Linked DNA regions of Homo sapiens: all the other regions are linked to region 6. The links are contacts of gene promoters, found by promoter capture Hi-C in blood cells and fetal thymus (Javierre and others, 2016). All regions are on one chromosome and are shown on one strand. The core of a region is centred on a gene start or on the middle of the fragment in contact, and the rest is flanking DNA. Distances in the headings are between cores, read along the strand shown.

The links. Contacts are between HindIII fragments. The CHiCAGO score rates a contact against its expected background, and 5 or more counts as called.
Region 1: a contact is called between a fragment that was not itself captured here and the fragment with the promoter of INCENP in region 6, in 4 of 17 cell types (neutrophils, monocytes, erythroblasts and 1 more). The highest score is 9.1, in neutrophils.
Region 2: a contact is called between the fragment with the promoter of MYRF here and the fragment with the promoter of INCENP in region 6, in 1 of 17 cell types (neutrophils). The highest score is 7.5, in neutrophils.
Region 3: a contact is called between a fragment that was not itself captured here and the fragment with the promoter of INCENP in region 6, in 13 of 17 cell types (neutrophils, total B cells, naive CD4 T cells and 10 more). The highest score is 14.2, in neutrophils.
Region 4: a fragment that was not itself captured here is called in contact with the fragment with the promoter of INCENP in region 6 in 1 of 17 cell types (M0 macrophages); the score reaches 5.8 in M0 macrophages.
Region 5: a fragment that was not itself captured here is called in contact with the fragment with the promoter of INCENP in region 6 in 1 of 17 cell types (neutrophils); the score reaches 5.0 in neutrophils.

What each region holds. Positions count from the first base shown.
Region 1 is chr11:61,766,508-61,771,209 of GRCh38, reverse strand. MYRF (myelin regulatory factor) reads right to left here. Exons shown (of 27, transcript NM_001127392.3): 4 at 1,889-1,950; 5 at 685-964. Among named protein-coding and RNA genes, the nearest start is that of MYRF-AS1, 11 kb to the right of the region's middle. RefSeq lists enhancers at 1,956-2,531, 2,532-3,108. The HindIII fragment of the contact is 6,310 bases long and covers 1-4,702 here.
Region 2 is chr11:61,750,282-61,754,775 of GRCh38, reverse strand. It overlaps MYRF (myelin regulatory factor), which reads right to left and starts at 2,140. Exons shown (of 27, transcript NM_001127392.3): 1 at 1,986-2,140. The coding sequence starts at 2,031. MYRF-AS1 (MYRF antisense RNA 1) reads left to right here. Exons shown (of 4, transcript NR_026882.1): 4 at 331-747. RefSeq lists silencers at 1,991-2,090, 2,211-2,350. The HindIII fragment of the contact is 15,547 bases long and covers 1-4,494 here.
Region 3 is chr11:61,809,173-61,814,361 of GRCh38, reverse strand. FADS1 (fatty acid desaturase 1) reads left to right here. Exons shown (of 12, transcript NM_013402.7): 2 at 1,009-1,119; 3 at 1,694-1,891; 4 at 3,287-3,388; 5 at 3,483-3,611. Among named protein-coding and RNA genes, the nearest start is that of MIR1908, 3.5 kb to the left of the region's middle. The HindIII fragment of the contact is 1,254 bases long and covers 2,199-3,452 here.
Region 4 is chr11:61,839,156-61,844,029 of GRCh38, reverse strand. FADS2 (fatty acid desaturase 2) reads right to left here. Exons shown (of 12, transcript NM_004265.4): 3 at 3,499-3,696; 4 at 3,305-3,406. Among named protein-coding and RNA genes, the nearest start is that of FADS2, 13 kb to the right of the region's middle. RefSeq lists a cis regulatory region at 1,962-2,246 and an enhancer at 4,740-4,874. The HindIII fragment of the contact is 2,678 bases long and covers 1,271-3,948 here.
Region 5 is chr11:61,729,413-61,734,113 of GRCh38, reverse strand. It overlaps DAGLA (diacylglycerol lipase alpha), which reads right to left. Exons shown (of 20, transcript NM_006133.3): 9 at 2,673-2,797. Among named protein-coding and RNA genes, the nearest start is that of MYRF, 21 kb to the left of the region's middle. The HindIII fragment of the contact is 4,149 bases long and covers 609-4,701 here.
Region 6 is chr11:62,122,501-62,127,381 of GRCh38, reverse strand. It overlaps INCENP (inner centromere protein), which reads right to left and starts at 3,371. Exons shown (of 19, transcript NM_001040694.2): 1 at 3,219-3,371. LOC124902681 (a long non-coding RNA gene) reads left to right here and starts at 3,671. Exons shown (of 2, transcript XR_007062697.1): 1 at 3,671-3,725. RefSeq lists enhancers at 2,500-3,081, 3,071-3,140, 3,671-3,760. The HindIII fragment of the contact is 13,511 bases long and covers 1-4,881 here.

The DNA of each region.
Region 1 (4,702 bases), core at 376-2,875, 350 kb after region 6:
AATCGCTTGAGGAATGAATGAGTTTGTCCCTGCCTGCAGTGTCACACTCAAGGTCACCCTTTATAGTGGGGGCTCTATGGAGAGCAGGCCCTGTGATCAGAAACAAGCCACAGAGGGCCTGGGCCACAAAAACCAGGGAAGGGGAGCTTCCGCACGGCACTCCTTCCCCTTCTGGTTTACAAAATGTTTTGACAGCAGAACCTTCCTTTGAACTAAACCTTTCATGGAATCTCCACATGTAAAACAGATGAAAAGACAATCGTGCAGGTTGAGTCAGAGTCGGGGGCTTGGGTCTAGGAAGAAGACTCCTCAGAAACCTGAGGGTTCCATGAGACAGCTGCAAAATCACTGGGGTCTGGGTAAGAGCACAGCCCCGGGCCCAGTCCTGGCTCTGCCCCTGGCTCATGATCTGGACGGGACATTTCCCCCATCAGAGCCTCAGTTTACCTACCTGTGCCCACCAGATAAGGTAGTTGTGAGCAATTAGCCATGGCTGTAAACCCCTCAAGGTATTGCTGGGTAAACATGTATAAATATGTTACCCCCATCTGCCCTGCAGAGCCTTCTGCCCTCCCTGGGTGCATCCCGGTCCCTACCTCCCTCTCTGGCCTGCCCGCCGCCCTGCCCACCCTGGTCCCTGTACCCCACCTTCCCACCCCATGGAGCCAGCCACCCACGTCTTACTCAGCTCCGTGCTGCTGCAGGAGCTGGTGCAGCATCTGGGACTGCTGGGTGTGGTGAAGATCAGTGGGCACCAGCCCCTGCCCCATGGCAGCGTAGTGGGGGATCGGGGGCTCGGCCTTCATGTACAGATCCCGCTGCAGGACAGGGTAGTGAGGTGGGGGTGGTGGGGGTGGCGGGGGGCCTGGCAAGTGGGCTGGAGGTGGGGGCGGATGCTCCAGGCGGGAGGGCACTCCCACGTGGCACAGTGTCTCAGGGGTTATCGTGCGCAGGAGGTGGGGCTCTGCAGGAGAGATGGGGGAGCGGGCATCTGAGACCAACCTCACTCAGGCTCCTGGGCACTGTCCTCCCCAAGGCAGAGTCTCCTGCTTCCACCCCGTCCTGAGCCAAGCCCGGGGGCTGCCCCCCACCTACCCTAGGTGGGAGGGCCGTTGGTCAGCCACCTACTAGAGGCCTGGGCAGGGAGGCACAAACCTGCCCAAGGAGGGGCAGCCTTTCACCTCATCCTAGCCACCTCCTGCCCCCAGGCTGGACCAGGAGAATCCAACCCAAATCTAAAGGTCCCCCTCCGTCCCCATCTCCTCTGAGGCCTGCTCCTCCTCTGGGCCTCAGGAAGGCGTCTCCGGAGACCCCCAGCCCAGGCCTGCCCAGTGTTCCCCTCTCCGGCAGGCAGTCCCTCTTCTGGGCTCTCAGGGGCCAGCCCCCCAGCCTGAGCGGGGAGGCCCCAGCTCCCTTTGTTCCCCAGGAGGCATTCCAGGGATGTTTTTGGTAAGATAAACAGAACTCTTGACCCCAATCCGGACTGCGGGGAGCCTGCTCCCGCGGTGGTTCTGCTCTTGGCCACCTGGGGGCCAGGGCACCCCTGAGCACCCTCTAAGGTGAGGTGGGCCCGGCCTGGGAAGCCTGCACCCAGGCTGCACCCACGGCCTTCCCCAGCCACCCACTTACCGCCGAAGGGTGCGTCCATGATGGCGCAGGCGGGCAGGCGGGTGGCATCACCGCGGGGATACTTGCTCAGAGGCAGGGCCAGGCTCCCCACCCGCCCGTGGGGAAACAATAGCCAAGCGCCAGGGAGTATTTGACCAGCGATAATCTCAGCCCGTTGGGCAGCCGCTGGCCCCCTCCCTCCTCCCCTACCTCCCTGATAAGGCCGCCCCAACTACTTGCCCAAACCCTGGAGCAGGAGGGCGGTGCCCGCTGGACTCACCATTCACCTGCTGGGGGGAGTAGGCCTCGGAGCCCGAGTCTGGGGGAGAGTCCGGCAGTGTGCTGCGAGAGCCAGGGGAAGGGGCCGGGGGGTGAGCAGCTGAGCTTCTGCCTTCCAGCTGGGCAGCTTCTCTGCGTGGTAGGGTCCCACAGCCCCCCAGAAGCTGGCGACACTGAGGTTTCGTCACATCCACCCTTAGGGGCATTTCTCCGCACCACCCACATTGGGGTGCCTGGCAGGGCCTGGGGCCGAATTGTGGGTAGGGGACCGCCCAGGATCCCCTCAGACCTACAGGGCACTTGGGGGGCAGTTACTAGTGTCCTTGATGATGGCACAGGGACTCAAAGACTCCCGCCCCAGACCGAAGGCCAGGACTTCTTCTCTCTTCCTGCACCCACTGAAGCCCCACAGCTTCCTGGAAACACAGGGCCCTAGGGGGCTGGGCCTCAGGGCATTCAGCAGGTCATGGGGGGCTGCCCCACCAGAGGCAGGTGTGGACTGGGAAGGGAGCCAGCACCACCGGGCCTGGGTTTATTTTTTTCTTGCAGGTTTCACTTTTATCAGTGTTCAGGAAAAAGAACAAACTCAACCCAAGAGGTCAACACGTCCTGCGTGAACCCTGTGCTCACCCAGCAAGTGGAAGGCTGTGGCCATATGGGATCCAGCTCTTTGGCCATCCCTGGTCCCCACATCTGGAGCAACTCCCCATTCCCATGCCCAGGGAACTGCCAGAGAGGCCATGGCCCTGTTGTGGACACAGCCCTGGGGCTGGCTCCAGAGTCCCCCTGCATCCCTGTGCCAGCCACCCACCCACCTTCGGGGCCTCATGTAGAAACCTATACAACGATTCAAGAACACAGACCCTGCAGGTTTTGTGTGAATGATACAAAAACGTGTATGGGGACTCAAACCCATACTCCTCGCCACAGCCTCAGGCCCCCTGGGCTGCCACTCCGTCCTGTACTTCCCTGACAATGGCCAGGCCTTCTGTAATGTGTTAAGGTCTTTCACACCCTGCAGTCCCTGCAGTCCCATGCCCCAAGTCCACAGCACCTTGTGTTCTCTCCTCTTAAGTTCCTCTGGCACCTGATTATTCCTCTACTTGGAGATGTACTGGTGAATACCTCTCCCCAGTTAGGCTTCAGGAGCCACTGCAGAGCCGTGTGTCTGTTTTTTTTCTTTTCTTTCTTTTTTTTTTTTTTTTGAGACAGAGTCTCGCTCTGTCACCCAGGCTGGAGTCCAGTGGCACAATCACCACTCACTGTAACCTCCACCTCCCAGGTTCAAACGATTCTTGTGCCTCAGCCTCCCAAGTAGCTGGGATTACAGGCATGCGCCACCACACCCAACTAATTTTTGTATTTTTAGTACAGACAGGGTTTCACCATATTGCCCAGGCCGGTCTCAAACTCCAGGCCTCAAGTGATCTGCCCACTTCAGCCTGCCAAAGTGCTGGGATTACAGGCATGAGCCACCGCACCTGGCCTTTTTTTTTTTTTTTTTTTTTTGAGACAGGGTCTTACTCTGTCCCTAGCAGTGGCATGATCACAGCTCACTGTAGCCTCGACCTCCCTGGCTCAAACTATTCTCTCACCTCAGCCTCTCGAGTAGCTGGGACTATAGGCACACGCCACCACACCCAGCTAATTTTTGTATTTTTTGTAGAGATGGGGTTTCATCATGTTGCAGACTGGTCTTGAACTCCTGGGCTCAAGCAATATGCCTACCTTGGCCTTCCAAAGTGCTGGGATTACAGGTGTGTGCCACCACACCCAGCCTCATGTCTGTCTTGTTTATCACCTAGACTCAGGTCTGGCCCTGGGTCCCTTCCTGGAGTGGCCCTGCCCACAGAGTCCCTGTGTGGCTCTGGACAAGCCCCTTTCCCTCTCTGAGCCTCAGTGTGCCATTAAAATCCTGACGGTAGCAGTGGCCAGGGCTCCTTGTGGGGTCTCCCAGGAGCTGGATACCCAGGAAGGCTGATGAGCTCACGCAATCATAGGCACATGATACAGCAGTGGGCACCAGCAGGCGCTTACCAAATGTTAGTTCTCCTCCCTCTGCCCCCAGGGGCCTGTAGTTTAGGAACAGCCTCACAGCCTCAAGCAAACAGTTTGCCTTCTGCAGCAAAGGTTCACCCCTGGCACCCCAAGCCTGGCCTCCACTCCCTTCTCCCCAAAAGCCAGGGAGCTCAGGAAGCACGGCCGGCCATGTGTCCATGGCCACCATGCACCCAGGGCATCCTCTGTGCCCTTGTTGCTTCCCACGATAATCTTGAGGGGTAAGCATTTGAGGGCTCACTTCACAGAAGAAACTGAGGCCATGGGTTACCGAGGCAGACGGCTGATAAATGGGGAAGCTGAAGTTGGAGCCAGGCTGTCTGAACACAGAGTTCATGCACCTAGTGTTTTAATGCTCTTCCACCCAGAGACAGGGGCCCCTACATTTGCCCTGAGCTCCCCTGCAGACCCATGCTCCCAGCCTCCCGCTGTGAGCATGTGCCCCGGGAGCTGCCCTGGAGTCTGGCTGGCCGGGTGGCTGCCTGGAACCTTTGGTCAAAGCCAGGCCTAAGGTTCAGCCCTGGGTCAGGCCCTTGGTGTGGACTCCTCAGAAAGATGGGGGGAAGGGCCTGGGTTCTGGGCCCCATGAGGCTTGCTTGGGTAGGGGGGAACTGAGGTGCCACATCTGAGCCATGGGCCAGCTCCTGTGGCCACAGTACACGTCAGCTGGATGCGTAAGTGGGTGGGCTTGGCGCGCGTGCACGGGTATGCAGGTGTTCCCATGAAGGTAAACAGTCACAGCCTCCAGTCCCGCCGC
Region 2 (4,494 bases), core at 891-3,390, 370 kb after region 6:
GCCTCACACCCCTCCCCTGCTCCCCACAGACATTCTTGAGTCTCCTCTTATCTCTCTGGAGGGAGTAGCGCAGCCTCCCCCCGCCAGGCCGCTGCATGGCTAAGCCGTGGCGTCAGCCCCCACCCCCCAACCCATGGTCAGGAGGGAGCCAGGGAGTCCAGGCCAGCCAGGCCCACCCCTCTGCTCTCTGTCAGGGCCCAGCGTCCTGGGGCAGGCAGTGTGGAGGTCAAGGGAGCCTGGCCTGCGGGTCCTCTGGGTACCTAGCAGGCTCAAGGCACTCCAGACAGTAACCCAAGCAAGCACGAATGTCTGGTCCCCTCTTCCCTGAAGGTCTCAAACCGCGTCAGGCCCCTCGAGAGCTCCTATGGATCAACAGTGTCTGGGGAGAGCCAGAGCCCCGGGACAGATGCAGGGCTGCCTAAGACCCTCAGATGGCCCACCTGATGCAGAGTCAACCATTCAATCTAGTCCAAGCCTGAACTCTTGGGTTCTGGGTCTGTGGGGTGTCCAGAATCCTGGAGTGGGATGACTGAGGCTTAGGGGTGCCCCTGCCTGGGCTGCTCAGCCAGCAGGTGTGAACAAGGGTTCCTGCCTCCCAAGTCACAGAGGGAGAGAAACTGAGGCACCGGAAGACCTGCTTCTCTCCTCCACAGGACTCCACAGGAATCTGGGGCTTGAAACTTGGGCCTTGGTTCCCTGCCCTGTAGCCCTGATAGGTTCACACATGAAGGGAAGGTTCTCAATGCACCAAGGAGCAGGATGTGGCCTTAGGGACTAGAGGGAGCTCGGGGCAGGGGCTGGGCTCGCTGCATTGGTAGACAGGGGCACAAAAGGGGGCCAGAGGGTCTGGCTAGATGTTCCAGGGAGGTTCTGAGAAGCGGAGTGGGCTGGGAGGCAGTCAGCCAGAACTTCCCCTCCCCCTCCCACTGCGGTCCCATCCCTCCAGAACCCAGCACCAGGAGGAGTGGTGGCCCTGCAGGAGGGGCAGGGGTCGTCCAGGAAAAGACAGGGAGTTGGTTAGATGGAGGAGCAGACCTCCAAAACCAATGTAGGGGTGGGGGCAGAAGAAGATATTATGGGGTGTATGTCAATTCCACCCCAGAGGGCTCCTTTCGGTCAAGTGGGGGTGAGGTCACTCTTTGAGGGGGCGAGGTCAGAGAGGCACAGCTCCAGGGTTGGGGGGACATAGTGCTGAGGAGCCTCAGAGGGCTGGTGGGATGCAGTTCACAGCACTAGAAGGGTCTCAGAGAGCAGAGGTGACCGGTGGCAGGGATGTCAGCTTCAAGAAGGTTCCAGCCCCAGGAGAGCATGCTAGGGAGGGGGGTCCCAGCCCCAAACAGGAGAGCAGTCACTAGGCAGCATTGTGGAAAGCAGGTGGCAGTCTCCAAGGGGATCCAGGCTCGAAAGTGGTCCTACCCTCATGGAAGCACAGTGGGGAGGTCCCAGCTCCTAGAAGTCATGGGGGATGGCGCCAACCAGAAGGGCACACAGGGGGTCTTGGTCTCTAGGCGGGGGTCACAGATTCTGGGAAGCAGGCTGGGGTCCAGCCTCAAGAGGTACGGAAGGTCCTAGAAGGCACACCGGGGGTCTGGGCCTTGAATGGGGTTGTATCCCGCTTGGGGTTCTGGGGAAGCAAAGTAGAGGGTCCCCAGACTCGGGAAGTTTGCTGGGGGCGAGAGTGTCACAATTTAGGGAAAGTTCCGGGTCCTGGAAGGCTCAAAGGAGTCCGGACCTGGAAGGGGACACAGTCCCAAGGAAGCTGCGAGTTGAGGAGCGGGGAGGGGGAGCCCAACTTCAGCGGCGGTGGGTGGTAACCGCTGGGGGACTCCCAGCCCCGGGAGCCTGTCTTGGCGGGCTGGTGCCAGCCTGAAGGAGGGTCCCAGCCAGAGGAGGCGGAAACACAGCGAGGAGCCCCAGTTCCCGGGGAGATCAGCCGGGGGTTCCCAGCGCCAGAGGGTCGCCGCCGCCAGCCCGCGGTCTCTCACCTTCGAAGAAGCGCTGCAGCGCCTCCGTCTCGTCCACCACCTCCATGTCCCGCCTGCCCGGCGCACACTCCAGCCGCGGCCCCGCTACAGCCCGGCCCGGGGGCGCGGCATCGCCGGCGCGGCCCGCGCGACAGTCCCGGCTGGGCTCCGGCTACGGTCCCGCCCGGTCCGCCGCCGCGCTTGCCCCCCGCGCGTCCCTGGCCCGGCCCCTGCCCGCCCCACGCGCCCCGCCCGCCGCGCCCAGCGCCCCCTGCCGGCCCGCGCCGCGCCCAGCCCGGCCGCGGGCACCACGCTCCCGACTCCTGCAGGCGGCGCTCAGCGCTGGGCAGTCCTAGGCTTGCGGGGCGCGGGGCCGTCCCGGGTCGGGGGACGCGAGACCGTCCCAGGCTTGAGGGGCGCGGGGCCTTCCCGGGTCGGGGTGGGGGCGAAGGGCCGCTTGGCCTCTGTGGGGTCGGGACTGGAAGGGTGTGCCCTCGCCGTCCTCGCCTTCGTCTTGCACGGGACAAGATGTCACGATTCCGAATCCAAACCTCAGAGACAGCCCCCATCCCTCTCGTTAGCCACCCACACACCCCGCTCAGCAACAATAACAACCTGCATTTAGGGAACGTGTGTTATGTGCCAGGCCACACAGGCATTATCTCATGTACTCCTCACAGGCACCTTATCAAGGAGATGCTGTTGTTACCTGCATTTTACAGATGGGGAAACTGAGGCTCAATGCATTAAGGACTGCCAGGAAGCCCTGTCCTGTGGCTGTGATGATGGAAATGTTCCCTGTGTTGTTCAGTATGGTAGTCACTGGCCACAAGTGAGCACTGGAAATGTGCCTATTGAGACTGAGGAACTGATTTTTTCATTTTGTTTAATTGTAATTAAACAGTTACGTGTGGCTGTGGTATTGGACAATGCAGGTCTAAAAGCTCCTTTTTTTTTTGAGATGGAGTTCGGCTCTGTCGCCCAGGCTGGAGTGCAATGGCGCGATCTCAGCTCACTGCAACATCTGCCTCCTCGGTTCAAGCGATTCTCCTGCCTCAGCCTCCCCAGTAACTGGGATTACAGGCGCCACCACGCTGGGCTAACTTGTATTTTTAGTAGAGACGGGGTTTCCTCATGTTGGCCAGGCTGGTCTCGAACTCCTGACCTTAGGTGATCAGCCCACGTTGGCCTCCCAAACTGCTGGGATTACAGGCATGAGCCACCGCTCCCCGCCCTGCCTAAGAGTTTCAAGGTCATTAAAGTTCAGAGCCAAATCCTGGCTGCCCCGGGAATCCGAACTCTCCTTTGCCGTGGCCCTGTCTGGTATAATGAAACCTGGAGGTTCTAACTCGATATAAGTCCAGGATAAAGCGGTTGTCCTTGTGCCCCTGCCTTCACCCTTATGACTGACTGCCTCCACATCTCTGTCCTGCCCAACTTGCACAGCCTCTCGTCTCACTGATATCCCCTTCAGTTCTCCCAAATCACCCTTTCTGAAACATACATCCGATCATGTCATTCCTTTGCAAAACTAAGTTTCCCTTTGCACTCAAAACAATATCTGAATGTCTTGCTCTGGTTTCTCAGGCCCCGCCTCTACCACTGGCCTCAGCTCTTCCCCTCTCTCCATTGCTCACTGAATAACAGCCACCAAGACCTCCTTGCCATTGCTCAAACATGCAAGGCCTACACCTGCCACAGGGCCTTGGCACATGCTATTCCATCTGTTTACAATGCTTGTCTCCACATGGCTACTTCTTTGTAGCAGTTGGTCTCAGCTCAAATGTCATGTCCCCAACCAGCCTACCTAAAGCAGTTCTCCCTACCTAGGCCTTTCTTGCTCACCATGTAAAAGATTCCTATTTAGTTTCTGTTATTATCCTTCTTGCTCTAGAATGGAAGCCCTACGAGGGCAAGATATTTTTCTGTATCGGTCACTGCTATAGCTTCAACACCAAGAACATGACCTGGCACACAGTAGGTGCTCAATAAATGTGTTGAATGAATGTATGGTGGCATCTTCAAACTACCGAATCCAGTCAGGCTCCAGTGGCTCACACCTGTAATCCCAGCACTTTGGGAGGTTGAGGCAGGAGGATTGCTTGAGGCCAGGAGTTCGAGACCAGCCTGGGCAACATGGCAAGACCCTGTCTCTACAAAAAATTAAAAAATTAACTAGGCACGGTGGCACATGCCTGTGATCCCAGCTACTGGGGAGGCTGAGGAAGGAGAATCGCTTGAGCCCAGGAGGTTGAGGCTGCAGTGAGGCTGCAGTGAGCCATGTTTGCACCACTGCACTCCAGCCTGGGCGACAGAGCAAAACCCTGTCTCCAAACACAAACAAACAAACAAACAAAAATCTACAGAATCCTGGACCTCTGAAACCTTGGGAGCGGATAATTCTGGAATCCCAGACCTAGAGAATCATCCCGCTTCAGAGTGGCTCAACTTGAAGCCTCTCGGGACCCTTCAAGGCAGCACGTAAAAGCTGGAAAAACCTACCCCACCCAACCACTGTTTGACAAGCCAC
Region 3 (5,189 bases), core at 1,576-4,075, 310 kb after region 6:
GTGTTTCTTAGTGGTTCCCCTCAGCCAATGCTTCCCATTCCTTGATGCATCCTTCTAACTAGAGCAGATACTCGGTGATCTTAAACTGTGGACACCTGGGAGCACCCTCAAAAGGCAGCTGGGCCTAGGGAGATGGCCTGTGCTTCTGTGTCAGGAGTTGGTTCCTTCAGGTGGGCTCGTGGTCTCGCTGACGTCAAGAATGAAGCCATGAACCTTCGCGGTGAGTGTTACAGCTCTTACAGGTGGCGTGGACCCAAAGAGTGAGCAGCAGCAAGATTTATTGTGAAGAGCAAAGAACAAAGCTTCCACAGCGTGGAAGGGTACCCGAGCAGGTTGCCGCTGCTGGACGTTGGGGGGTGTGAGGGGGAGCAGCCTTTTTTTTTTTTTTTTTTTTTGAGACGGAGTCTCCCTGTCGCCCAGGCTGGAGTGCAGTGGCGCGATCTCGGCTCACTGCAGGCTCCGCCCTCCCCCGGGGTTCACGCCATTCTCCTGCCTCAGCCTCCCGAGTAGCTGGGACTACAGGCGCCCGCTACCTCGCCCGGCTAATTTTTTGTATTTTTAGTAGAGACGGGGTTTCACTGTGTTAGCCAGGATGGTCTCGATCTCCTGACCTCGTGATCCACCCGCCTTGGCCTCCCAAAGTGCTGGGATTACAGGCGTGAGCCACCGCGCCCGGCCGGGAGCAGCTTTTATTCCCTTATTTGTCCCTGCCCATGTCCTGCTGATTTGTCCATTTTATAGAGCACTGATTGGTCCATTTTACAGGGTGCTGATTGGTCCATTTTACCTCTAGCTAGCTAAAGAGCACGGATTGGTGCATTTTACAAACCTCTAGCTACAGAAAAGTTCTCCAAGTCTGCACTCGACCCAGGAAGTCCATCTGGCTTCACCTCTCACTTCAACTTGGGTACAGCCTTCTGGCGGGCAGGAGGATGGCCTTTGGTGCGAACACTGCCGGAGTCCAGGGGGCTGGCTCCCTCACCTTTCATCTTCTCCCGGCACTTGCAGGATCCCTTTGTGGCCTTCCACATCAACAAGGGCCTTGTGAAGAAGTATATGAACTCTCTCCTGATTGGAGAACTGTCTCCAGAGCAGCCCAGCTTTGAGCCCACCAAGAATGTAAGACCCTGTGTTTGCTATGTCGCAACTATTGGTTGTTGAGGGGGACAGAGAGGGGGTGGAAGGAGAGTCTAGATGGGATCACAGTCATAGTAATCACAGTCAGTAGTAGCTCTGGGGAGTCTTGAGGTCCCTGCTTCTCTTGCATAGTCATGAGGTCACAGGCCCAAGGGAGCATGGCTTTGCAACCTATGGCTCCCCCAAGGCTGCCACTACCATGGCTGCCATCATTGTTATCATCATTGTTATCATATGAGCACTTACTATGCACCAAGCATAAACTCATAACTCTTACACATTTACAGATGAGATAACAGGCTCAGGGAGGTTAAGCAACACAGCCAAGGATCACACAGTTAGTAAATGGCAGAGCAAGGACTTAGTCCCCTGAACTCTTAGGCACTATCCCATGGCACCTCCTCCTGTCATCCTCATTGTCGTGGTATCTTTGCCTAGGACTGTGGACTTCCCACAGCTACCTCAGTGGGAGGTCCTTGAGCCTGAGAGGGCCCTTGTCTCCAGTAGCATTGGGGTGCAGATGAGAAGAATAACAGCTCCTCTTCCTCTTCTGCAGAAAGAGCTGACAGATGAGTTCCGGGAGCTGCGGGCCACAGTGGAGCGGATGGGGCTCATGAAGGCCAACCATGTCTTCTTCCTGCTGTACCTGCTGCACATCTTGCTGCTGGATGGTGCAGCCTGGCTCACCCTTTGGGTCTTTGGGACGTCCTTTTTGCCCTTCCTCCTCTGTGCGGTGCTGCTCAGTGCAGTTCAGGTGAGAGCCTTTGGCTTGTCAAGTGCACAGCAATGCTCAGCATCCCTGGGGAAAGCTCCTTGGGTGTTTGAGGAAGGCCAAGAGTGCCTGCCCTCCAAGCAGGGCAGATCTGAAGGTATGCAGGAGTGAGTGCAGGAACATGCATTCTGCTGTCTTGACCTGTCTGCTCTTTAGCCACATGGACATCTTCATTTCTCTCACTGCCTTTTTAGCTGCTTCTCCAAGGGTTCTCTTCTTCCTATGCGGTTTGTTCTCTGCCACAGCCCACCTGTGCCAGGAGCCAAGTTTCTGGTTTCTTAGCAAAGCTTGGCTCCCTCCCCACCACTGACATTGCCCAATATGTTAATAATGATTGAGCGCTAATTCTTGACTGTCAGGACCCATTTGGCAAGCCTTCTGCTCATGTTTCAGTCCTTTCTGTATTCTAGATGTCAGTCCATCATAAGTCATGAGCTTCAGGCCAGGTGTGGTGACTCATGTCTGTAATCCTAGCACTTTGGGAGGCCAAGGTGGCCGGATCACTTGATCTCAGTTCAAGACCAGCCTGGCCAACGTGGTGAAACCTCTACTAAAAATACAAAAAGGCCAGGCACAGTGGCTCACGCCTGTAATACCAGTACCTTGGGAGGCCAAGATGGGCAGATCATTTGAGGTGAGGAGTTCAAGACCACCTGGCCAACATGGTGAAACCCCGTCTCTATTAAAATACAACAGTTAGCTGGGAGTGGTGGTGGGTGCCTGTAATCCCAGCTACATGGGAGGCTGAGGCAGGAGAATTGCTTGAACCTGGGAAGCGAAGGTTGCAGTGAGCCGAGTTGGCACCATTGCACTCCAGCCTGGGCAACAGAGCGACACTCTCAAAACAGGCCAGGTATGGTGGCTCACGCCTGTTATCCCAGCAGTTTGGGAGGCCAAGGTGGGCAGATCACCTGAGGTCAGGAGTTCGAGACCAGCCTGGCTAACATGGTGAAACCTCGACTCTTACTAAAAATACAAAAAAATCAGCCAGGCTTGGTGGCGGGCACCTGTAATCCCAGCTACTTGGGAGGCTGAGGCAGGAGAATTACTTGAACCCAGGAGGCGGAGGTTGCAGTGATCTGAAACCGCACCATTGCACTCCAGCCTGGGCAACAAGAACAAAACTGTCTCAAAAAAAAAAAGTCATGAGCTTCGGAGCTGGCGAAACAGAAGAACAGAGAAGGGATGGTGATTTGCCCCAACTCACGTGTGAGTCAGTGGCAGAGGCAGAACTAGGACCCATGTTTCCTGACTCCTGAGGTGCATCACAGGCCTTGGCAGATGAAGGAAGTGGGAGAGGCTGAAGGAGGCATCGAGGTCAGTGAAGGCGACACTGGGGCTGGTGGGCTGCTCTCAGTGTTGACTCTTCTCACCTAGGCCCAGGCTGGCTGGCTGCAGCATGACTTTGGGCACCTGTCGGTCTTCAGCACCTCAAAGTGGAACCATCTGCTACATCATTTTGTGATTGGCCACCTGAAGGTCAGTGGGATGGGGAGGAGCTCTCTAAAACTCCAGGCAATGAAGGGCTGCCTTGGGGGAAGCTTTTCATACTCGTGTCCCTGCTTTTCTGTAGGGGGCCCCCGCCAGTTGGTGGAACCACATGCACTTCCAGCACCATGCCAAGCCCAACTGCTTCCGCAAAGACCCAGACATCAACATGCATCCCTTCTTCTTTGCCTTGGGGAAGATCCTCTCTGTGGAGGTGCGTGGAGGTATCAGTGGAAAGGTCTTGGGGAATAGGAGGCAGCCAACATAGGGGAGTTGGGGAAGATGCCCACGATGTTGTCAGTGTGGGCAAGACACTGGGGCTGGGCTGGCTGGGGCTTTTGCCATTTTGGAAGTTCTGGAAGGCAACAGGCAATAGATGGGGGCTGCCCAGGAGGGAGTCACCATCCTCCCTAGAGAGTTCAGTCAGCAAACCGTTACTGCATAAAAGGCACCTCATTTTGCAAAGGATCCAGCGGATGACCAGAAGGATCCAAATGATGAGATAGCCTATCCTTGAAGGTGCTGATGGCACCTCCTGGAGGTGCTTTTTTGACACTCTTGCCCCAGGCAAGTATTCCCCTTGCACTTTGTATTTCTCTCCCACACTTAGGTATCCTTCTTGTCACAGTCTTCTCTGTCCAGGGCTGGACTGTCTTACTCTTCTTTCATGTCCAATATCTGGAACATTCATTCACTGAGTACTTCTTCCCACCCTGCTGATCCCCAGCCTGATTTCCTGGGTGGTCAGCGTTGGGTTTGAGATGTCGTCTGAAGTTGTAAGCAGAAATAATGTAGCTGCTGAAGGAATAATGCCTGGGGGTGGAGATCTGGTGAGCTTTTAGTGAGCATTAGGCAATGGAAGGTTCTAAAAGGCCAGCAGAATTCTTTGAAAAGTTCATTTAAAGCCCTTTGTCCCAAGGCTGTAGGCTGCAGAGTTCTTCCAGGTCCACCTCCTCCACTTTGTGACATTTCAGCTTGCGAGGAATTAAATTGTCGTTAAAACACATTTCAGTTCTAGGCATGAGTTCAAGGTAGCCTGGCGTTCCTCTCGCCCCTGGCCATGAGAACTTTGAAAGGGCTTTGGCAGCACTGGTTGGCCTGGCATGAGGAGCTCATAGCTTGAGGCTCATGCCCCACCTGTCCATAATGTTCTTATTTTCCCATCATGAGCATGGACTTGGGTTTGTTACATGTCCGATACCATTATGGTCAGTACTATGCAGATGACGAAGCAGCCCTGTCCCCCGTCTGACTCCCATGGCTGCTTCAAGGGCAGTGTGGTTATTTGCTGGGCAGTGGCATGGGGCTTGTGCATTTCTACTGTCACTACAGAGGGTTTAAAAAAAAGACATGGGCAGGTTAAGTGGAAGGGAACAGTCTCACACCACTACCTTTATTGCTTCTTGGTACTTGGGTTTTCAGGAAATTCCTATCAGCAGACATCAAAAACAGAGAATGAAGGGACGCAGTTGGCATGTGCCTGTGGTCCCAGCTACTTGGGAGGCTGAGGTGGGAGCATCGCTTGAGCCCAGGAGGTGAAGGCTGCAGTGAGTATGATCACGCCACTGCACTCCAGCCTGGGTAACAGCGCAACCCTGTGTGTAAAAATAATAATTTTTTAAAAAGATTAAAACCAAAAAAAAATTGTAAACAGAGTTCAACGTAACTTACAGATTAAAAACAGTAAAATATGACAGAAACTGAGAGGTAGTCATGATCAGATATGGCCTCCTTCGGGTGCCGACATCTGAACTGAGACCTGAATGATGAAAAGGGCCAACACTGCAAAAAT
Region 4 (4,874 bases), core at 1,360-3,859, 280 kb after region 6:
AAAATTTTGATATTTTGTTCATTGTGGATTTTTTTGCATTAATTTTGATTTTTTTAAAAACATATTGCAGGCCGGGCGTGGTGGCTCATGCCTGTAATCTCAGCACTTTGGGAGGCCAAGGCAGGTGGATCACCTTAGGTCAGGAGTTCAAGACCAGCCTGGACAACATGGAGAAACCCCATCTCTACTAAAAATACAAAAAAATTAGCTGGGCATAGTGGCGCACACCTGTAATCCCAGCTACTCGGGAGGCTGAGGCAGGAGAATCGCTTGAACCCGGGAGACGGAGGTTTCAGTGAGTTGAGATCACGCCATTGCACTCCAGCCTGGGCGACAAGAGTGAAACTCCATCTCAAAAAACAAAACAAAACCACATTGCATTAAAACATCATTTATCTTGATAACTGAATTTGTCTGGTGTCCCCTTAGAATTTGTCTGGTGTCCCCTTAGATTTTATACCCTAAGCGAGTGCCTTACTTGTTTCACCCTAATCCCAGCCCTGGTGGCCTGAGATGAGGCTGCAGAAAGTCTGGTGATGTCCATTTCCAGATGCAGCGCCCAGATGGCACTGGGCCTTTCAGCTTGCATTTATTTATTTAGAGACAGTGTCTCACTCTGTCACCCATGCTGGAATGTAGTGGCACCATCACAGCTCACCGCAGCCTTCAAATCCCAGGCTCAAGCCATCCTCCGGCCTCAGCCTCCCCAGTAGCTGGGACTACAAGCATGCACCACCATCCCCGGCTAATTCTTTTATTTTTAGTAGAGACAGGGTCTTGCTATGTGGCCCAGGCTGGTCTCAAACTCTTGGCTTCAAGCAATCCTCCTGCCTTGACCTCCCAAAGCGCTGAGGTTATAGGCGTGAGCCACTGTGCCTGGCTGAAGTTTGCATTTCATCCTAAGTACAGTGCTGAACTACGAAAGAGTTTTAACCTCAGAATCGTCTTTGTAAAAGATCACACTTTGGAAGAAATGTCCACTGGGCATGACACGGGCTGAAGGCAAACAGGTCAGGATGTGAAGAACTCCCATTAAATCCCATTAGCAGTGCAGCCAACAGGAAGAAGGGGGTCCCAGCCTCTCACAGCACCTGGTAACCTACTCACAGGTCTTTCCAGCCTGTGCTAAGACATCTGAGTTGGCGAGGCCCTTGAGGACCTCCCTGTAGCCAGTCCCCTTTTTCCCAGTGATGGGAAGAGACACAGACCTACAAGATTTGTCCCCATGGCTGTGCACCTGCCGAGTGCTAGAGCCAATTTCAGGCAAGCTTGACCTCCGTGCTCTGGGGCACCCCTGAGTGAGCCACATGTCCATGTCCTTGGCCTGTCTCTGTGACACAGCACCAAGGACACAGCCAGTGGGGGCTGGTGGGCCATGAGTGGAGCCCACATCCCCAAGCCCAAGGACCCTGTTTGCTGTCATCCACGTTCTACATGGAGACCAGTCCTCTGTCCTGGCCCCGTCTCCCGCCTGACGCAACAGCCGTGCTCTGGGGCCCCTCAAAGACTGAGGGCAATTGGACAGGAACAATCCCCCCTGCCCGGCCCCTGCCCAGAATCTGGAAGCAGGACACAGCCCATCTTTGTTAAGTGTGTGGGGGCTAACATGGGTCAGGAGTTAAATGTTACTTTGCCATACTGAGGAGGGTTTGATCCAACAGAGAAGAGTATAAAATGAAACAAAGCACTCCACTATGTGCACCCTCTCCCTTTGCCCCTGAGATTCTGGACAGAGACCAGGTTCTCAGGCCGCTTCAGGCTCAGGGCCAGGCAAGCTGCTCGCTGCGAAACTGGTGACCAGCTCAGGGGTGGTTGGCCACCAGTGAGATCTGCAGCCGGCAAGCCAAGGGCCCCGTTGCGGTCTGGGTGGAAGAGGGGATAAGCTACACCCCACATGTAGCTCGTCCCTTGCCAGGGTGTGGAGGGATGGATTCTTTAGGACCCAGCTTTTCTCAGGAAGCAGGTACTGTTGGGTCAGGCTGGGATGGGGATAGTCTATTTCAGAGAGCAAGTTGGCAAAGACTCATTTTCAAAACTGAGGAGATAACGCCTGTCAGATCAGAACAAGGCAGTTGGCAATTCCAGCTTGTCTTTCTACAAACATGCTGAGACTCTGTGGTCTGCTTCCTTATCTAGGGGGAGGTGAGAGTGGAACTTCCTTAACTCCTGCACTTCTAATGACTTTTGTCCTTTGGGCCAGCTGATCATTCCGTAGTTTGGTGTCCCCTATCTGAGGCCTTATAGGATGACTTTTACTTTTTGTACCCCGCTTATTTCCAAAGAGTATTTGAAGTGGCTTGAGATAAAAGACTCATATATAACGGAAGGCTAAAATAAAGATAAAAGCATAAATGCCAGATGAGGAAGGAGAGAATGGGGGCACCAAAAACACAGACTAAAGATAGTTGCTGTTTCAAATGCTGCTTTGTACCTCTTGGCTTCTGAGGGGAAGAGAGGAGCACAATGTGTTTCTTTTTCTTTTTTTTTTTTGAGAGATGGGGGGGGGTCTCACTATGTTGCCCAGGCTGGTCTCGAACTCCTGGGCTCAAGCAATTCTCCTGCCTCAGCCTCCCAGGTGGCTGGGATTACAGGTGCATGCCACCACACCCAGCACAACGTATTAAAGAGCTCACATCCCCAGTGAAAGGAAGCATACCAACTCATCAAAAAAGATGCTACAGGCCGGATGCGGTGGCTCACACCTGTAATCCCAGCACTTTGGGAGGCCAAGGCAGGTAGATCACAAGGTCAGAAGTTTGATACCGGCCTGACCAACATAGCAAAACCCCATCTCTACTAAAAATACAAAAATTAGTCAGGCATGGTGGCGAGTGCCTGTAATCCCAGCTACTCGGGAGGCTGAGGCAGGAGAATTGCTTGAACCCGGAGGTGGAGGTTGCAGTGACCCAAGATCACACCATTGCTTCCAGCTTGGGTGACAAGAGCAGGACTCTGTCTCAAAAAAAAAAAAAAATACTGCTACTTTACTGTCCCCAAACAAAAACAGATTTGTTAGATGAGTCCTTAGCTAAGGAACATCAAAAAATACAATCCGCTGAGCCAAAAGACAAGAAAGGTGTGTGCCTGTCTTCATAATGAGTAGTACACCATGGCTTTGTGGTTCGGACCTGATCCAGAGACAGGGCTCAGGAAGTCAGCAGAATGGAGAGTCACCATGGCCCTCAGCATAGGCACACCTGCCTTGTCACCCTGTAGCCTCAGAGCACTGAGCAGAGAGGAATCCTGGTCCCTCTGTCTCAACTGCTGTCCAACAGGACAGATGCCCAGGGCTGCTGACACTTACCTTTAAGTGGCCAATGACGAATTTGTGGACAAGGTGGTTCCACTTGGGTTTTCTGTAGACAGACAGGTGGCCATAATCATGTTGCAGCCATCCAGCTTGGGCCTGGGGAGAGAGGGTCACACGTGCTGTCACAGCCTCAGCAAACAGGCACCAGGCCTCTGTCAGCTAGGGGAAGTGAGGGTGTCACGCCTCACCTGAGAGGTAGCAAGGACAAAGGCCGTGATGAGGGTAGGAATCCAGCCATTGCCAAAGTAAAAGACAGTGAACCATGCAATGCTCTCCAGGGCGATGATGTGGGCCAGGAGGAGGAGGAAGAACACGTGGTTGGTCTTGAACAGGTTCATGTCCTCAGCCGTCTTCCTCAGGGCCCGGAAGTCCTCAGTGATCTTTGACTGTTGACCAAGAGCACAGGGAAAGGAGTCAGCCACCAGCCACTCTGGAGGGAACATATGTCTCGAGCTGCCATTTCAACAGCCAATGCACAACCCAGAGAAGCTGTGGCAAGAGGGGGCCAAGCCACAAGCCTCGACCCTCCAGGAGTCCCTACAATAGCTGCTGTTACCACATGCCCCACACAGCCCTGGGGCCTGTATATTTGTCACAGCTAGGTAAGAGTGACAGAGAAAGGCTTTGACTCAAAAGCTTGCATTTTATACACCCTGTGTTCATAGCTCTATTCACATCAGGAAAAAGGTAGAAACAACACAAAGATCTCGTGATGGATGAATGGATCAGCAACACGTGGTCTATCCATGCAATGGAATATTACTCAGCCTTGAAAAGGGAGGAAATTCTGACACATGCTACAATGTGAGTGAACTTTGAAGACATCATGCTAAGGGAAACAGGCCAGTCACCAAAGGACAAATATTGTATGATTCCATATACAGGAGGTCCTTGGAGAGGCCAAATTCAGAGACAGAAAGTAGAATGGTGCCTGCCAGGGGCTGAGAGGTGGGAGAATGAGGAGTGAGTGCTTAATGGATGTGGAATTTCAATTTGGGGAAGATGAGAACTGGATGGTGGTGATGGTTACATAACAATGTAAATGTGCTTATTTGATGCCACTGAACTGTACACGTCAAATGACCAAAATGGTTGACCACACTTTTTTAAAAAAGAAAACTTTAATCCCAGCACTTTGGGTGGCCGAGGCAGGCAGATCACCTGAGGTCAGGAGTTCGAGACCAGCCTGGCCAACATAGTGAAACTCCATCTCTACTAAAAATACAAAAATTAGCCAGGCATGATGATGGGCACCTGTAATCCCAGCTACATGGGAGGCTGAGGCAGGAGAACTGCTTGAACCTGGAGGCGGAGGTTGCAGTGAGCCGAGATGGTGTCACTGCACTCCAGCCTGGGTAACAAGAGCAAAACTCCATCTCAAAAAAAAAAAGAAAGAAAGAAAAGAAAAGAAAAATAAAACTTGCATTTTCCACCACCAAACAGAGCACCACTTGCTCTGCGCACACTGTTGGGTCTTGAGGGGTTGAGTTGGGGGCGACACAAACTAGCGCAGGAGGGCGAGCTGAGGCAGGCAGGAGGGGGCTGTGAGTCCCGGGCACATGGA
Region 5 (4,701 bases), core at 1,434-3,933, 390 kb after region 6:
TGCCCCTACGCTCTCAGCTCAGCAACAGAGTGGCCCTTTTAAGATAAGTTGAGCCACATCATTTTCTTTTTAAGACCCTACAGCAACGCCCTGTCTACCCCACCTGGCTCTGGTCTCTCTGACCTGCTGCCAGCGTGTTCAGCAGCACCTGAGACAGCGTGGCCTGGCCCTTGCTCCTCTGGGCCTCTGTTCAAACGTCCTGTCACAGTGAGGTCTCTCTTGCCACCTCATCTAACAGCCAGGGCTCCCCAGGCCCCCAGCACTCCCCATCCCAGGCACCTGGCTTTATGTGGGTCCAAAGTGCCCATCCGCTCCACCATGTGCCCTATTTGCCTTGTCTATGCGCTGTCCGCCTCCTCGCTGGGCAGTGAGCACCACAGAGAGGTCCACAGCTGTATCCCCAGCACCCAAACAGGGCCAGGTACACAGTAGCCTCCCCACAGAAATGAATGAGGCAGCCTGGGAGCTGGGCACCCAGCTAGGTGCAGCGGCACCTCAGGCCACCAGAGGGAGCCAGCATCCAACTGCTAAGGCACCAGACGCTGGAGCCCACGTGACTGGGCCTGCCAGCTGTCACGGGATGACAGCTGAGATTTTATTAAGAAGCTTGGATTCTGGTGATGCTAGGAGGTTTGTCTTCACTCAGAGCATCACCTGAGTGACTATTACACACTTTCCAATGGGGAGAGACTTTGCTGAGAAAGCCACAGTGCTTGCTGGGGGGACAAAGCCGATGTACAATGGGAGAGCATGGTCCCCCACACTGCAGGTCAAGTGGTGATGGGCCAGGGTCTAGGGGCTGAGCTCCTGTGCTCGGCAGCTGTTCCCTCTCCAACCTCAGCTGAGCATGAGGCTGTAACAGTGTGGCCTTTGGAGACTGGAGGCTTGAGTTTGAACCCTTGCTGTATCACTTCCTGACCGCAAGGGCCTGGAGGTCACTCAGCCATTCTAAGCCTCAGTTTCCTCTTCTGTAAGAGCAGGTGGTGACAGCTACTTCACAAGGCTGGTGTGAGATCAAGGGTCCAAGATGCAGAAATGGTCTGGCCTATAATAGGTTCTTAATAACGAGTGGCTCCTCGCTTCTCCGGTGACAGGGCTGCCTCTGAGTCAGTGATGTGTGGGCCAGGAGGACCAGTCAGGGGAGCAGGGCCAGCACCCCGGATGGGAGGGCCCTGGGGCTCATCCAGGGCAGGGCTAGGGCCAAGCCAGAAGCAGGCCTGGCTCGCTGTGCTCTGCATGGGCTGAGAACTGCTGCCAGGGGAGAGGCCTGGGCCCGAGGCAGATGGGCAGCCCTTCTCCCTCTGGCCAGGCTGTTATGGACAGGCTGGGGCACTGGACTCTGGCCTCCTCCCAACACCCTGGGCTGCAGGCCTGCCTCTCTCTGCCCCACAGGCACCTGGTTCTTCCAGGCAGGGGCCTGGCTGGGCCCTCATGAGGTCTAGGGACTCTGCTCTCTCTGCAACACTAAGGCACCTAATACAAATGCCAGCACCCCTCCTGTCTGCAGAGCACCAGAGAGCCCTGCCTGCCAGTGATACCCTGGGTTCTGAAACACCCTATGGGCAGGCAGGACAGATACCACCTGTTACAGTTTAGGAAACAAAGGCTCTAAGAGCTGTCCCCACACCACCAGTGAGTAATGGAGCCTGGTGCTCATTTTGAAGAGTTCTCTGCCACAGCTGGGACTCCCAGGGATGCAGGCAAGAATGCCAGGCACATGCAGCTGACAAAGATGGGAAGGGGGCATGAGGTGCTCTAGTCCTCTCTGATCAGTCGCTGGAGGGATGGTGAGAATAAGGCCCCGAGAGCCACCCAGCTTTCTGAGGACAGGGAGGGCGCTGCAGAGTGGGTGTGGCTGCTGTGGGTCCCAAGGGCAGGGGTGTCAAGGAAAGAAGCTGCTGCCCAGCATGCCAGCCTTTCCAGAACGGGAGCCCAGGGAACTGTCCTCCTTCTGCCTGGCATGAGCTGAGGGCGGAGACACCCAGGACAGGGAGGGGTTCCTCCTGGAGCAGGCGCCCTTCTCTGGCCCACTTAGGAATGCAGAGTCCACCCAGCCCCCAAGCGGTGGGCTGAGCGCAGAGCTAGGCTGCAGGCCAGGTCTGGGGCTAAGGCCTTTCCTAGATCCTATGAAGAAGGTTGGAGCCTTAACTAACAGGCCTTCTTGGTGCCTTTTCAAAGACCTCTATGGATTGGGCCTCTCTACTAGGAAAGTCCTTTCTTCTAGAAAGGCAGAGCACATGAGGGGAGCCGAGAGAAGGGAAGATGTGGGCAGAAGGGAATGGCTGAGGGGGCAGAGAGAGAACGCCAGAAGGGGAGGGGAGGCAGCAGTGTGGGTGTTATGCAATATCTCATCTAGCCCTCTCCAAAAAATTCCACGAGGTATGTATCAACATCTCCACTTCGCAGATAAAGAAACTGAGGCTCAGAGAGGTGGACCCACTTGCCCCAGGCTGCAAGTGACAACATCTGGATTCGAACCCATAACTGTGTGACTCCGAAGCCTACAACTTCACTGCTCAGGGATAACACAGAACTAGAAAGGTTGAGGCCCAGAGAAGGTGTAGAAAAGAAGCCATTCAGGGCAAAGCAGTAGGCGCAGCCCGGTAGCCCTTCCTCACACACCACCCGGGAGGAGAGGTGCAATCGCTGGGGGATGGGACAGGGGTACTCACGAGCAGGACCGAGCCAGTTGGCAGAGGCCGCAGGCGGGCTTCCGCATCAGGTACATGGGCCACCCGTAGGCAGCCAGGGCAAAGAGCATGTAGTAGCAGACCTCTTTGTAGCGGAGCATCTCTTGCTAGAAGAGAGGAGGCAGAGGGCGGTCACCTCCTGCCCTTCCTGCCTACAGCCTCAGGGCCCAGCAGTTCCCCAGGGTGGGAGCCTGCGGACCCAACCCCTGGCAGGGAGGGGTTGCTGGTCCCCTGTTGAGGTGTGGGGCCCAGGCCTTGGAGGAAGGACACTCCTCCAGGTGATAATTGCATTTCCCTAATTATCTCCATGCAACCAGGACACGAATCCTCAGAGACCTGTCCTGTTGCTCCAGTCTCAGAATTAATGATTTGGGGACAGAAAATCACTTGGTCCATTTCCTTGCCTGTTTTCCAGAGAAGGGAAGAGTTGAGGGATGTGAGTAGTAATCCCCCCACCTCGGCAATCAGCCCTGAGAAGGGCCCTTGATGCTGGGAAAATGTAGCCCTGAGAGGCCCCAGCCCTCCAGCTGGGCGGCGTGTGTGGGCCTTGGGCAACAGGGCAGCCACGCTAGGCCAGGAGACCAATCACCAAATCTCTGGCCCTTGGGTTCTTTGACTGCAAATATTGGGAGCCTTCAACTTGACTCAGCCAGCTGCAGGCTCCCAGGGCTCCGGGCAGGGGCTGCGTTGGTGGGAGACTGGGATCTCTTGGGAGAAAGGCACCAGTTTGAAAGCCAGTGTGTCTGAGGCCCAGCAGCCACTGTTGATGCTGAGGAGGTTATTGGCTGCTGGGGTGGAGGGAGGAAGAGGCAGGGGTGCCCCAGCAAAGTGTCTGCCAGCTTCCAGTCTTTCCCGAGTGCCCCAGGCACCGGGAGAGGGAATTAGTCACCTTGTAAAAGTTAAGGAGGGTGGTTAGTCACCTTGTGAAGTGAAATAGGTGGCACCTTGATCAGGGCCCGGAGGGGTGGAAACATCCCTGGCCAGCTCAGCTGCTCTTCAGGAACGAGAGTGGAGAGGTAATTATCCTCTCCCTGTCAGAAGCTCCCTGCAGCCCTGGGGGCGGGGTGGGCCCTGGCAGCCTCTGCCAGGTGGCAGGTGTGACCCTGGCACCTCGATGGGAGTCACTTGATGGGAGTCACAGCTGCCTGCCCTCCCCGCTCCCTGTGAGGAGTGGGAGGGAGAAGGTGGTGAGAACAGCCAGGGCAGAGCCTGGCAAGCAGAAATGGGCTGGTTTGGGGCACTTACTATGGATGTGGCTATTTTTAGAGAGGATACAAATGCCTGCTTTAGTGGGGAGTAGGGACAGGCAGGGAGGACTGAGGCTTTTCTAGAGGACTGAGTGTTGGTTTTTTTTTTTTCTTCTTTTTAAGGGACAGTGCAGCTGGAGTGCAGTGGCAATCATAGCTCACTGCAGCCCTGATCTCCTGGGCTCAAGCAATCCTCCTACCTCAGCCTCCCAAGTAGCTGGGGTCACAGGCATGTGCCACCATGCTTGGCTAATTTTTTTTTTTTTTGTAGAGACAGGGTCTCACTATGTTGCCCAGGCTGGTCTCAAACTCCTGGCCTCAAGCAATCCTCCCACCTCGGCCTCCCAAAGTGCTGGGATTGCAGGCACAAGGCAGCACACGTGGCCTAAAGGACTGAGATTTCTAAGAGACGGAATCCTTTCCATCAGCATCCTGGCTGGCACCGAGGCTTCCTGGCACTGTGATGGGAATGGCTCGTGTCCTCTCAGCACAGCTCTGGTAGAAGGTGTGCCTAGTGTCATTTCACAGATTCAGGATCCAGCTCAGAGGGGATGAGGGGCCTGCTGGAGGTCGCAGCGACAGGCATCAGAGCAGATGCACGCTCCAGCCATTTGCTTCCTGAGGCAGGGCCTGTTTCTCCCGGCTGCCAGCTGTGGTTTCAGCCTGGGCTGTACTGGGCCCTGGGCTGTACTGGGCCCTGGGCTGTGTGCTGGGCCCTGGGCTGGGGTTCTCCCACCATGTTACTGGCACCACCTTTCCCTATT
Region 6 (4,881 bases), core at 2,122-4,621:
TTCTTATAAAACTAGCAGCTCAGGTATCCTCCTTAAAACTTGATAACCAGCCGGGTGCAGTGGTTCACACCCGTAATCCCAGCACTTTGGGAGGCCGAGGCAGGTAGATCACATGAGGTCAGGAGTTCAAAACCAGCCTGGCCAATGTGGTGAAACCCCAACTCTACTAGAAATACAATTAGCTGGTCATGGTGGTGTGCGCCTGTAATCCCAGCTACTTGGGAGGCTGAGCCTGGAGAATCACTTGAACTAAGGAAGTGGAGGTTGCAGTGAGCCAAGATCACACCATTGCACCCCAGCCTGGGCATCGCAGCGAGACTGTCTCAAAAAAAAAAAAACAAAACAAAAAACTTGATAGCCATTACAAAAACTTCAAGCAAGGAAGAAGTACAATCAGCCCTCCATATCTGTGAGTTCCACATCCATGGATGCAATCAACCACCAGTGGAAAATATTTGAAAAAGAGCTGCATCTGTACTGAACATGTATAGACTCTTTTCCCTTGTCATTATTCCCTAATAATACAGTATAACAACTACTTGCATAGCTTTTACATCATATTAGGTGTTATAAATAATATAGAGATATAAAGTATACAGGAGGATGTGTGTAGGTTATATGCAAATACTATGTCATTTTATATCAGGGACTTGAACATCTGTGGATTTTGGTATCCAAAGGAGGTCCTGGAACCAATCCCCTGAGGATTCCAAGAGACAACCATATTCTACTACATCACAACAGGGGCTCATTAAATATCCCAACAGGTGAATGAGTGAAAGAACAAATGAATGGGTGGTGGTCATAAGCCATAACAACAAACTGCATGCCTCAAGTCAATGGCAGTGATCCACCATCCTGACTTACCTCTTTAAAACCAAGAACTGGCCGGGCACGGTGGCTCACGCCTGTAATCCCAGCACTTTAGAAGGCCGAAGTGGGCAGATCACGAGGTCAGGAGTTCAAGACCAGCCTGGCCAACGTGGTGAAACCCAGTCTCTACTAAAGATACAAAAAAATTAGCTGTGTGTGGTGGTGCACGCCTATAATCCCAGCTACTCAGGAGGCTGACGCAGGAGAATCGCTTGAACCTAGGAGGCAGAGGCTGCAATGAGCCAAGATCACACCACTGCACTCCAGCCCAGGCAACAGAGGGAGACTCTATCTCAAAAAAAAAAAAACCATGCACAACTCAGCCTCCCACCTACAATGGAAGGTCTTGTAAGGAAGGGATAAATTGCTGACCCCTTGATCCCTCACAGGGCGTAGCACCAGGTCAGGTTTCAGTCTCATGGGACTTCCTCAGGCTTGATTCAAGGACACAGTAGTCTTTGTTCCTCAACAAGCTCTGCCCTGCGTCTGGAACATTGTCTCACATTTTGTATGGCTCACTCCTCATGGCTTGGATCTCAGATCCTCAGGAAAACCTGAAAACCAATCTAAAGTAGCCCCAGCCATGATCCCATTCATTGATTGTAATTCTCTGCAGAGCACTTGCGTGCTTGTTTACCTGTTGCTTACTGCCTGTCCCTGCCCACTAAACAATTGCTCTCTGAGGGCAAACCCCTGTCTGTCTTGCTCATCGTTGAATGCCCAGAGCACAGCAGTGCCTGGCAACAAGGACTATTTGTTAAATGAATTAATCCACCCATCAACTCTACACCTAGAAATAAACATCCTATAGGTGCTCATCCCACCACACAAAGGGCACCAAATAAACTTAATCTGCACAGGTTAGAACTGACCAACACATGTTCAAAACCCCTGTTCCCAGATGCCAAGGGCAGCAATAATCAGGGCAGGGCCAAATGGGCAGGATCGTACAGGCTTTGGGCTGAAACCTCGGCTCTGCAGCCAGCCAATCATGGGCAAGCCCTTTTCACTGTCATCCCTCACCTTCCCCTAACCCTTCTGCACCCAGACCACAGCCCTGGCAAAGCGCAGGACCTCAGGCCAGAAAAGAGAAAACTGTTTAAGGAAGCCAAAGGTTTGCAGAGAAAAGCAACAACTGGCTAACTTTTTAAAAAGTATTTGTTCAAATGGGCAACGTGGATGAGAGCTTCTTTCACAAAGTCCATGAAAGCAATTGGACTTCTTTCACGGGGAGGTTTGCTTCTAGCAGACCTTAGCGCAACGATTTAAAAAGGGTTACCGTAAGTTAAAACAGAGGTGACCCTGAAAAAGAAGGAATCAGTGTACCAAGAATCAGGCTCCTGGAAGAGCAGCAAAAATCTCTTCTTCAACCCATGTAAGCACCTGCACACAGATAAAGAGCACTCAACACCTCACCGAGGAAGACACTCTCCAGTCTTCCTCCTCTCCAACACTTCTTCCACACCATACACCAGACTGAAGGCCCCATCGTCCTCCTCTATGACTCCTGTCCTTTTCAGGGTGCTGTAAGTTGGGCGCCTACCACACCTCTGTGCAGAAAGCGCATAGCAGCTGCTCCCATTTACTGAGTCATACTCCATGCCCGAGTCAGACATCATCTCATTTAATTCTCACCACAACCTTGAGGATACGCATGGGCAGATGAGGAAATTGAGGCAAAGAGAAGTCAAAATCAGCCGGTAAATCAGGGGCATAAATAGAACCGTGCCCTTAACCACGGGCTATACCGCCTTTAAACCGTGCCCTTAACCACTGGCTATACCGCCTTCTAGATATCAACTTCTGAAAGGCAGGTGCCCAGTCTTGGCTCTGGGCAACCCCGCGAGCAACCCATGTTAGCTGAATGAGACTGAACCGCTGACAGCGAACAGGCTTGGGGAGTGACAAGGGGCGGCCCAGCCTCCGGAAATGGTCAGTTTAAAATGCTGCTCAGCTGGGGGCGGGGGCGTTGAGAGAGGGGTTTAACTGCACAGAAATGCCATCTGGCATCATTCCGCCAAACAACCGGGTTGGTTTCGGGCTTCCTGCGCGTCCAAGTCAACACTAATCCTCACAGGCACAAGGTGCCAAGCAGCCGGGAGCGGAGGGAACGGGGCTATGCTCTAGGAAGCTGAGGGCCTAGGTGGAAAGGGTGGGAGGCATCTCGGGCCCGAGAACCAAGGCAGGCGACCTCGCCACTTGGAAGAGGTGACCCTCATATGCCCAGGTAGCCAGGGGCTGGGGTGGGGAGTCACGACCCTGGTCCGGAGTCGACAGGGACGGAGCAGAGGACCGGGGAAAAAATCGCGAACCACCCCCCAATCCCCACGCCCACGCGCACTCACTCGACTGCGCCACGTCCCCTGAAGGCTGCTCCGATCCAAGTCCGGTGGTATCCCTAGGTAAGGCCCCGCTTGCCCAGACCCACTTGGCTCCGGGCCTTCGGGACTCACCGCACGGGAGGAGCAACCAGGCGGCGCAGCGCGGGCGAAAACTATGATTTTCAAAACTGAAGGCTCAGCCAATCCTCGGCAAGTTTGTCCGGGCGGTTGCAAAATTTTAAGCCAATCAAATAACAGGAAGTACCAGTCAGCCCTCCTATTGGCCATATCCACTAGCAATCTGCGGGACTAAGAGGCGGGGAAAGGAAGCGAAAGACTTTAAGCCCCCTCAGCTTCCGGGTGCTGCGGCCGCGGCCGAGAGAGGAAGTAGATCCCCGCCTGGGAGGAGCCCGCAGACCTGGAACTACGAGTCCCGGCGAGCACTGCGAAGGCCACGCGCGGCTTTCTTTCTTCTCCAAGCACGGTGGCAGTCTTCTGATCTCTGCTGCTTTTTTTTCCTCATAAAAACATGTATGTATATACTTACATTGCTGAAAGACCAGCTTTTTAATGTAACAAATTATCTAGGTACAGAAGTCATAGGTTCCTCTTCCCATGAGAAAAACATTCCTCAAAATACAAACCAAACAGCATCCCAGAGGGAGTAAAATTTCATTGTACTGAAACATATACAAATTAAGGCTACCTTGGTATATAAACAATTTAGAAATTATGATGGAATAGTTCCACCAAATCATTTACGTATAGGAATTCATGCCATTTTTTAAAGAATTGGTAGTGGGGCTCAATTCAAACAATATTATGCATCCTTACATTCAACTTAATACACTTAGCAGCTATAAGGAGTGTAACTGTAACCCCACTTCCTGAAATCTCAGGAGTAATGTTAAAAATCCAAACCCATCAAAGGCCAGGGTGTTACGGTATTTGGCTCATGAATCGAAAAGCCTAATCATTTCAATTTAATCTTTACAAGTAGAACAAGATCCAAACATGGGACGTTTTCTTATTTTTCTTTGCTTTTGTGGTTGTAATGCCCTTTTGGTTTTCTGAGCAAGCTGAATACATCTGATAAATACTACCATTGGACAAAGGATCTAAACATTGAGATGTTTTACTAAATCAAGGTTTCAAGTTGGCACAATGTTTTTACTAAGTCATATTTCAATTAGTTCATCTTTCCAATATGGAGGCGGGGGGGGAAAGACAAGGACTAATATGTCCTATAAAGAATCTCTGGCCGGCGAGATCCCGCCACTGCACTCCAGCCTGGGCGACAGAGCGAGACTCCGTCTCAAAAAAAAAAAAAAAAAAAAAAAAGAATCTCTGGCCGGGCGCGGTGGCTCACGCCTGCAATCCTAGCACTTTGGGAGGCCGAGGCGGGTGGATTGCCTGAGCTCAGGAGTTCGAGACCAGCCTGGGCAACACAGTGGAACCCTGTCTCTACTAAAATACAAAAAAAAATTAGCCGGGCGTGGTGGCTTGCACCTGTAATCCCAGCGACTCGGGAGGCTGAGACAGGAGAATCGCTTGAACCCGGGAGGCAGAGGTTGCAGTGGGCCGAGATCGCGCCATTGCACTCCAGCCTGGGCCACAAAAAGCAAAAAACTCCGTCTCAAAAAAAAAATCTCTGCCGCTTTTGAGAAGTAAAAACAAAACGCCTTGT